3 separate regions of the Homo sapiens genome follow, and regions 1 and 3 are each linked to region 2. Evidence: promoter capture Hi-C in human tissues and cell types (Jung and others, 2019). All regions are on one chromosome and are shown on one strand. Each heading gives the region's core, a stretch centred on a gene start or on the middle of the fragment in contact. The rest is flanking DNA. Distances are from core to core; before and after follow the strand shown. Region 1 overlaps FLYWCH1 (FLYWCH-type zinc finger 1). Region 2 holds the start of PRSS22 (serine protease 22). Region 3 overlaps SRRM2 (serine/arginine repetitive matrix 2).

Region 1 (2,700 bases), core at 89-2,588, 83 kb before region 2:
GACTCCGTCTCAAAAAAAAAAAAAAAAAAAAAAAAGTTCCCAGATGCCAGCCAAGGGTGAACCTTGCACACAGGCTGTTCTTAGGGCAGCAGTCTCAGGCCTGCTGTGTTACATTAATTGGTTTTGCATGTTGATGCATTCCTGGGATAAATCTTACTTGGTCATGGTATATAATCCTTTTTTATGTTGCTGGATTCTGTTTGCTGGTATTCTACGTTCCTAAGAAATACTGGTCTGTAGTTTTCTCTTTGTGATTCCTTTGCTTGGTTTTGATATCAGGGTGATACTGGTCTTAGAGAATGAGCTGGGGCCAAGCATTGCGGCTCATGCTTGTAATGCCAGCACTTTGGGAGGCCAAGGCAGGTGGACTGATTGAGCCCAGGAGTTGGAGACCAGCCTGGACAACATGGGAAAACCCCGTTTCTACTAAAAATAGAAAAATTAGCCAGGCGTGGTGGTGCGTGCATGTAGTCCCAGCTACTCAGGAGGGTGAGGTTCAAGTGAGCTGAGATGGCACCACTGCACTCCAGCCTGGGTGTCAGAATGAGACTCTGCCAGAATGAGGTCCATAGTAAGGTCTCATCTTTATTCCTGATTTTAGTATTTTCAGTATTCTTGCTTTTCAATTTTTTTGATCTGTAGATAGAGCTAAATATTTGTCAATTTTATTGATCCTTATACAGAACCAACTTTTGGTTTCATTTATTATTTATTTCCTTCCTTCTGCTTCAGTTTTTTTTTTTTTTTTTTTTTTTTTTTTGAGATGAGTCTTGCTCTGTCGCCCAGGCTGGAGTGCAGTGGCGCAATCTCGACTCACTGCAACCTCCACCTCCTGGGTTCAAGCAATTCTCCTGCTACAGGCTCCCACCACCACGCCTGGCTAATTTTTCTATCTTTAGTAGAGATGGGGTTTCACCATGTTGGTCAGGCTGGTCTTGAACCCGTGGTCTCGTGATCTACCTCCCTCGGTCTCCCAGTGTGCTGGGATTACAGGTGTGAGCCACCACGCCCAGACTTTTAGTTCTTTTTTTTTTAGTTTTTCTATTTTTTGTGGAGATGAGGTCTTGCCCATGCTAGTATGGAACTCCTGGGCTCAAGCGATCCTCCCACCCTAGCCACCCAAAATGCTAGGATTACAGGTGTGAGCCACCATGCTTGGCCCTGTTTATTCATTTAGAGATGGGATCTTGCTCTGTCTCCCAGGCTGGAGTGCAGTGGTACAATCATGCTTCACTGCAGCCTCAATCTCCCAGGTTCAAGCGATACTACCAGCACATGCTACCATGACTGGCTGAGTTTTTGGCAGAGACGAGGTCTCACCATGTTGCCCAGGCTTCTTCCTTTTTAATAGAAGTGTTTTTAGCTATAGATTTCCCTCTAAGCACGGCTTTCAGTGCATCCCATAAGTTTTATTTCAAAGTATTTTATAATTATCTTCTTTGGCTCATTGTTTTGTTTGTTTTAAATTACACACAGGGTCATGCTCTGTTGCCCCAACTGGTTTCAAACTCCTGGGCTCAAGTGATCCTCCTGCCTCTGCCTCCCAGAGTGTTGAGATTACAGGCGTGAGCCACCATGCCCAGTCTGACTCACTGGTTTCTTATAAGTGTGTTCTTTAATTTCTACGTATTTCTGAGTTTCCCAAATTTCTCTGTTTTTGATTTGGTTTTTGTTTGTCACCTAGGCTGGAGTGCAGTGGCACAATCTTGGCTCACTGCAACCTCTGCCTCCCGAATAGCTTGGATTACATGCATGTACCACCATGCCTGACTAATTTTTGTATTTTTAGTAGAGATGGGGTTTCACCATGTTGGCCAGGCTGGTCTCGAACTCCTGACCTCAAATGATCTGCCTGCCTTGGCCTCCCAAAGTGCTGGAATTACAAATGATCTGCCTGCCTTGGCCTCCCAAAGTGCTGGAATTACAGGTATGAGCCACTGTATCCAGCCGTGAAAGGACTGAAATGATACAAAGTATGTTCTTTGACCATAGTGGGATGTAATTACAAACCAATAACAAGGCTGGGCACAGTGGCTCTTGCCTGTAATCCCAGCACTCGGGAGACCCGAGACAGGAGGATCATTTGAGGTCAGAAGTTTGAGACTCAGCCTGGCCACCATGATAAAACCCTATCTCTACTGCAAATACAAAAATCAGCTCGGTGTGGTGGTACATGCCTGTAATCCCAGCTACTCAGGGGGCTGAGACAGGAGAATTGCTTGAACCCGGAAGGTAGAGTTTGCAGTGAGCTGAGATCATGCCGCTGTACTCCAGCCTGGGCCACACACAGACTCCATCTCAAAAAATAAAATAATGGACTCTTGCTTTATGGCCTGGCTGTGGTTGAGAAGAACCTGAATTCTGCTGCTGGCAGCTTCCCTCTTGTTCTCTCTCTGTCCCATGGCTGTCATGTGAAGGATGCTCAAGTGGGCCCAAGGAGGGGTCCCTATGGTGAGGAGCAGGGCCTCCAGCCTCACTTGGGCCTTCAGATGACTGCCACCCTGGCTGACAAATTCTCTTCAACCTCAGGAGTCAGAACCACCCAGCCCAACCACTCCCATAATGTTGACCCACAAAAGCTGAGACAGCAAATATTTGTTGTTTTAAGCCCACTACGTTTTGTTGTAATTGGTCATGCACCATTAGATAACAAATACAATTACCCATAAATCTGCTGGCTTTCAGGAGAACACGTCTTGA
Region 2 (2,700 bases), core at 195-2,694:
GCCCTAAGCTGCCTCAGTTTCCTTATCTGCAGAGTGGGAATAATAAAGACATTTGAGGATTAGGAGGCAATGCATGGCACTCCTAAATGTTTGCTCTATTATATAAATACTATATTTATATTTGTATAAATATATTTATTACATACATATTCACTACTATGGTTTTTTTTTTTTTTTTTTGAAACAGAGTCTCGCTCTGTCGCCCAGGCTGGAGTGCAGTGGCGTGATCTCAGCTCACTGCAACCTCCGCCTCCCAGGTTCAAGCGATTCTCCTGCCTCAGCCTCCCAAGTAGATGGGACTAAGGGCGCCTGCCACCATGCCTGGCTAATTTTTTTTTTTTTGTATTTTTAGTAGAGACGGGGTTTTACTATGTTGGCCAGACTGGTATTGAACTCCTGACCTCATGATCTGTCCGTCTTGGCCTCCCAAAGTGCTGGGATTACAGGAATAAGCCACCCCACCCAGACACTATGGTTGTTTTTAATTCACCCCCGGCGGTAGCAAGGGCCCTGCTGGAGGCTTGTTGATCGAATGAGTGAAGGGGCGCAGGCTCCTGCCTCTTTGTAGAGGAGGAAGCCTGCCCTGCTTGGGTGGGAGTGTCCCAAGTGTGGGGCGCTGCAGGGCACTGAGTCAGGGAAGGTCTCACAGGATTCAGCCCCGGGTTGCCACTGTGGCAGCCGCTGGGGGGAAGCACCGAGAATCCACTCCCAGCCCAGGACCCGGCCCCCCACAGCCCAGCCCAGCAGCTCTTTGAATCCTGGGAGTCCCAGCCCTTCCCGGGGCCCCTCTTCTCTCAACCCCCCTGCTTGGCCGAGCCCTGGTGCCCATGGGCTCCTCCCCTTCCCAGGAGTCCAGGTGAGGTGAGTTGTCAGGTGTCTGAACCGCAGGGCAGAGCCCCGCCTCCAGGAACGACAGGAGGGCGGCCACCAGGAGGCCACCAAGGTCGCCACTCACCTGATTCACAGCTTTCGGGAAGTGGGTTAACGGGATTCCCAAGCCCGGGTTGCGCCAGGTCTCTGGGCTGAGTCACAGGGGCCTGGGGCCCTGCAGGTGGGAGCCGTTACTGAGCTTTGGGCACCCCCTTGATCCCTAAGGCCCTAGGACCACCCCCAACACCCAGTACCCCAGACTTCAGCCTCTCCAAACCCAGGCCCTCCCCAGCCCGGAACCCCTTCCTTTCAGTGCCCTGGCACCTTTCTCTGCCCCTGGACAATTAATGTCAGGGACCTCTGGGCCCAAGCCCCCTCCCCTGCCCTTCCAGAGGCCACATCCTGGGGTCTCAGCTAGAGCCCCCCCAGAGCCCTGTAGCGGCTGGCTTCCTCCCCGCAGCCCCGCCCTCTGCCCAGGACCCACAGCCGGGGTGGCCGCGGGAGCCACCTGGGGACTGGTCTGACGGCATTCCGCCTCCCAGGATAAAACCTGGGGCGACCTGCAGGGAACCTACACACCCTGACCCGCATCGCCCTGGGTCTCTCGAGCCTGCTGCCTGCTCCCCCGCCCCACCAGCCATGGTGGTTTCTGGAGCGCCCCCAGCCCTGGGTGGGGGCTGTCTCGGCACCTTCACCTCCCTGCTGCTGCTGGCGTCGACAGGTACGTCCGGAGGCTGCTCCTCCCTCCTCCCTCTCACCTCCACCCTCCTTCCCTCCTTCCCTCCCTCCCTCTCTCCCTCCTGGCCTTGCCTCTCTCATCTCCTTTCCGCTTCTGCTCTGTTTATCTCTTGCTCCTTAACTGCTCTGTGCCTCGGTTTCTTCTACGGCTGTGAGGATGAAACAGAAAACGCAGCAAGTACGCAGCGCGCCTCGGTCTCCAGTTACCGTCGGCGTCGCCATCGCCTGCTCCCTCTCGCCTCCGTGTTCTCCCATCTCCTCGTCCTCCGCTGCTTGCCTCTGGGGAAGCACCGTTTTGTGTTGTTCCTGCCGCAGGAGGTCAGGGGAGGGCACACCAGCGGCAGCAGCGTCCAGAGCCGAGGGGCTCAGGTCTGTGCCTCCCTCGAGGAGCCGGTCCTGGTCCCCGGAAGGCAGGCTGGACGGGAAGCTGCGGGAGGGCAGGGTCACAGCTGTGCAGCCAGGGCCTGGCCAGGCCCCAGGAAATGCCCCGCCGGTAGGGGCCCTGGGGTTGAGAGACTTGAGAGTCTCCCTGGGCACTGGAGGGCTAGAGGTTCCTCACCACCAGGTACTCAAGGGGACCCCCTCCTCACTGGGCGCTGGGACGCCTGCTCACTGGGCGCTGGGACCCCTCCTCACTGGGCGCTGGGACCCCCTCCTCACTGAGCGCTGGGACCCCCTCGTCACTGGGCGCTGGGGACCCCTCCTCACTGGGCGCTGGGGAGCCCTCCTCACTGGGCGCTGGGGACCCCTCCTCACTGGGCGCTGGGGAACCCTCCTCACTAGGCGCTGGGGAGCCCTCCTCACTGGGCGCTGGGGACCCCTCCTCACTGGGTGCTGGGACCCCTTCCCACTGGGCACTGGACCCCTTCTCACTGGGTGCTGGGGGCTTCTCGCTGGGCGCTGAGGGACCCTCCTCACTGGGTACTGGGACCCCTCCTCACTGGGCGCTGAGGGACCCTCCTCAGGGGGTGCTGGGACCCCTCCTCACTGGGCGCTGAGGGACCCTCCTCACTGGGTGCTGGGACCTCCACCTCACTGGGCACTGGGATCCCTTCTTACTGGGTGTTGGGGGCCTTCCTCACTGGGCGTTGA
Region 3 (2,700 bases), core at 158-2,657, 97 kb after region 2:
TGCGCCTAGCAGGTGTTCTAGACCGAGACCTGCCCCTCCGGGCTGGTGTTCTAGACCGAGACCTACGCCTGGTGGGAGTTCTGGATCGTGATCTCCGCCTGGCAGGTGTTCTAGAGCGGGACCTGCCCCGGCGGGCTGGTGTTCTAGAACGAGATCTACCCCTAGTGGCTGGGGATCTAGAGTGGGACCTCCCTCGCCTTGCTGACCTAGACCTGCCTCTTCTCTGGGTATTTCTGCTCCTAGACCAGCCTGGTCGCTGAGGAGACCTAGAGCGGCCACGTCGCTGGGGGCTTCTAGATCTTCCCCACCTCTGTGCAGACCTGGACCTACGCCACTGGGGAGATCGGGATCGAGAATGACCTCTCTTGGTAGGGGTTCGAGACCGAGATCGCCCTCTCTTAGCGGTGGCAGGGCTACGGGACCTCCCCATCCTACGGGAGGGGGTATGAGAATGTGATTTATCCCGTTTTGCTCGGCCATGTGAGCGATTCTTAGATGTGGGAGAAGAAGAAATCTCTCGGTGGGACCCTGGAGCTGGAGCAGGTTTAGGACTTTCTGGGGAAGAGCTGGCATGCCGAGAAACTTTGGTAGGTTGAGGGGATGGTGGGCTGCTCTCTGAGGAAGAAGACTGGGGAAGTTTCTCGGGAGACTTAGGTGGTGAACGGTCCCGAGTTGGAGAGGCCTCAGATGGGGGGTTCACTGGCTCCTGGCTTAAGGGGGTGGTTGCAAGGGGTTGTGGGGAGCCGCCATGTCGCTCAGCAAGGAGCGGAGTGGGAGCAGGTGGTTCTGGGCCTGTGCTGCTCCTTTCCGGAGAGGGGCTAGGTCGAGTTGCAGATTTCTAAGAGTGGAAGAGAGAGCAGGGATAGGGATTCATAAACGCCAAAACTTCACATCACCCCTAAGATCCCAACACCCTTTCCAATGATAACTTTTCTTTTACACACCCTCTGACCACAAGCGATCACTTTCATTCAATAACAAGGAATCATATAAAGCACAGTGGTGAAAACATATGAATATATGGATAGCCAGAATCTTAAAACTAAAAGAAACACAAAATGCAAATAACTAATGCACTACTACATTTAACAAATACCACTACAAAATGTTATAAGAATGGAAAAAAACTATCTTTAAATGGAAAAATAAGCAGTTTCCTAAAGCGAATGGCAACTTCACCTTTGAAGAATAACTCTATTAAACGAAAAGAAACAGCATGAATAAAGATGTGAGAACATGATTTGTGTGAAGAGTAAAAAAGCAGCCCAGGATGGGTAGAGTACAGGAAATGAGAAAAAGACCAGACTATTAAAAGCCTTAAATATAATTCAAAAGCAATAAGGAAGTAGTTAAGTTTCTGAGGTCAACCAACTTGTAATTTGGAAAGGTAACCCTGGATGACATGGAAAATTGATGATAGAGGCCAAGAATTCAGACTGTAATCACTAAAGCAAGAGGAAATGATTAATGCTTAAAATTGGAACAGAAGACTACTGAAGACTATTTCAGTGTTTCATTCAAACTATTGGTGGCAACGCAATGGATTAAAAAGTTTTGGTGAGACATGACCAGCATTTAATGAAAAAAGAGAAGAAACTAGAGGCATCATACGGAGTACACAGATAAGATACAACGTTTGTTCCAGTTCTATCTATGTATAAACAAGACACAATATAAAACCTAACATCCAGTGAGATTTGATTCTAAAGGGTTCACAATTCAGTCTAGTAACAACACTAAAAGTTCTGCAGATGCAGTAAGAGAACTAGGAGAGAAATGCAGGAAAAAAAACTGAATTTATTTATTTTAATAAGTTATTACCTCTCCCTTTCACATCACATGTCTATCCTAAATCTATACATTTGCAATCCAATGAACATCACCAACTCAGGAACATACCTCCTTCTTGTCTTTATCTTTGTCTTCATAAGGGCTGCTAGGCTGTTTCGTAGCAGTCTCCGGGCTACTAGGCCGTTGTGTGCTGGTAGTACCTGGTTCACTGAAAGGCGCATCTCCCTCCCCGCGTCGCCCTGAAGCAGGGGAAGGACTTCGCCCAGCCAAGGCAGTTGTATGAGTTTTAGCTGCAGCACTTCGAGACCTGCAGGAGTTAATTGAGGACGTGGGAGAGGAAGGAAATCAGCTCAAAGGGAGAACAGAAAACCCCCTCCCCAACTCCCATCCACCTTTCCTAACTGGACAACCCTCTTCCAAAAAGCCTTTAGTCGCACAACTCAAATCATTCACTGAAATGCAAGTACAGTCCACTTTGGTTCTTCTTTTCCCAACACAATCCCAAAGAGCGTTCTCCCTCTACCCCTTTACTCACCTCCCCCAAACATCCCCAAACCATCCACCCAGCCCACTCCCTACCCGCTTCATTCACAACTCACCTCTGAGCCCACCTCCTTCAGGAAGCCTTCCCCGATTAAGGAAGCCAGGGTAAGGATTCCTTCCTCCCCCAGACACCACGAACAAACCACCACCCCCCCTATTCTGGCAGTCCATATACATCAGAACGAAACAAAAATAACAAATAAACAAAAACAAAAAAAAAAAGAGAAGGGGAAATGTATATGTCTGTCCATCCTGTTGCTTTAGCCTGTCAGCTCCTAGAGGGCAGGGACCGTGTCTTCCGAATGGTCTGTGCAGCGCCTAGCACACCGTGGGCGCTCAATAAATATTAAATTAATTAACCCATCA

The links. The method cuts DNA at HindIII sites, captures the fragments that hold promoters and counts their contacts. A contact is called where the count stands out against the background at its distance.
Region 1: a contact is called between a fragment that was not itself captured here and the fragment with the promoter of PRSS22 in region 2, in 2 of the 25 tissues and cell types used here (small bowel and spleen).
Region 3: a contact is called between a fragment that was not itself captured here and the fragment with the promoter of PRSS22 in region 2, in 3 of the 25 tissues and cell types used here (dorsolateral prefrontal cortex, lymphoblastoid cells and mesenchymal stem cells).

Annotation. Positions count from the first base shown.
Region 1 is chr16:2,940,056-2,942,755 of GRCh38, reverse strand. It overlaps FLYWCH1 (FLYWCH-type zinc finger 1), which reads right to left. Exons shown (of 10, transcript NM_001308068.2): 9 at 2,664-2,700. The region is part of intron 3 of FLYWCH1-AS1 (FLYWCH1 antisense RNA 1); the gene reads left to right. Among named protein-coding and RNA genes, the nearest start is that of FLYWCH1-AS1, 15 kb to the left of the region's middle. The HindIII fragment of the contact is 8,887 bases long and covers 1-2,700 here.
Region 2 is chr16:2,856,914-2,859,613 of GRCh38, reverse strand. PRSS22 (serine protease 22) reads left to right here and starts at 1,444. Exons shown (of 6, transcript NM_022119.4): 1 at 1,444-1,591. The coding sequence starts at 1,510. RefSeq lists enhancers at 258-857, 858-1,458, 1,459-2,059. The HindIII fragment of the contact is 21,792 bases long and covers 1-2,700 here.
Region 3 is chr16:2,759,699-2,762,398 of GRCh38, reverse strand. SRRM2 (serine/arginine repetitive matrix 2) reads right to left here. Exons shown (of 15, transcript NM_016333.4): 10 at 1,900-2,098; 11 at 1-838. Among named protein-coding and RNA genes, the nearest start is that of SRRM2, 8.4 kb to the right of the region's middle. The HindIII fragment of the contact is 5,652 bases long and covers 1-2,700 here.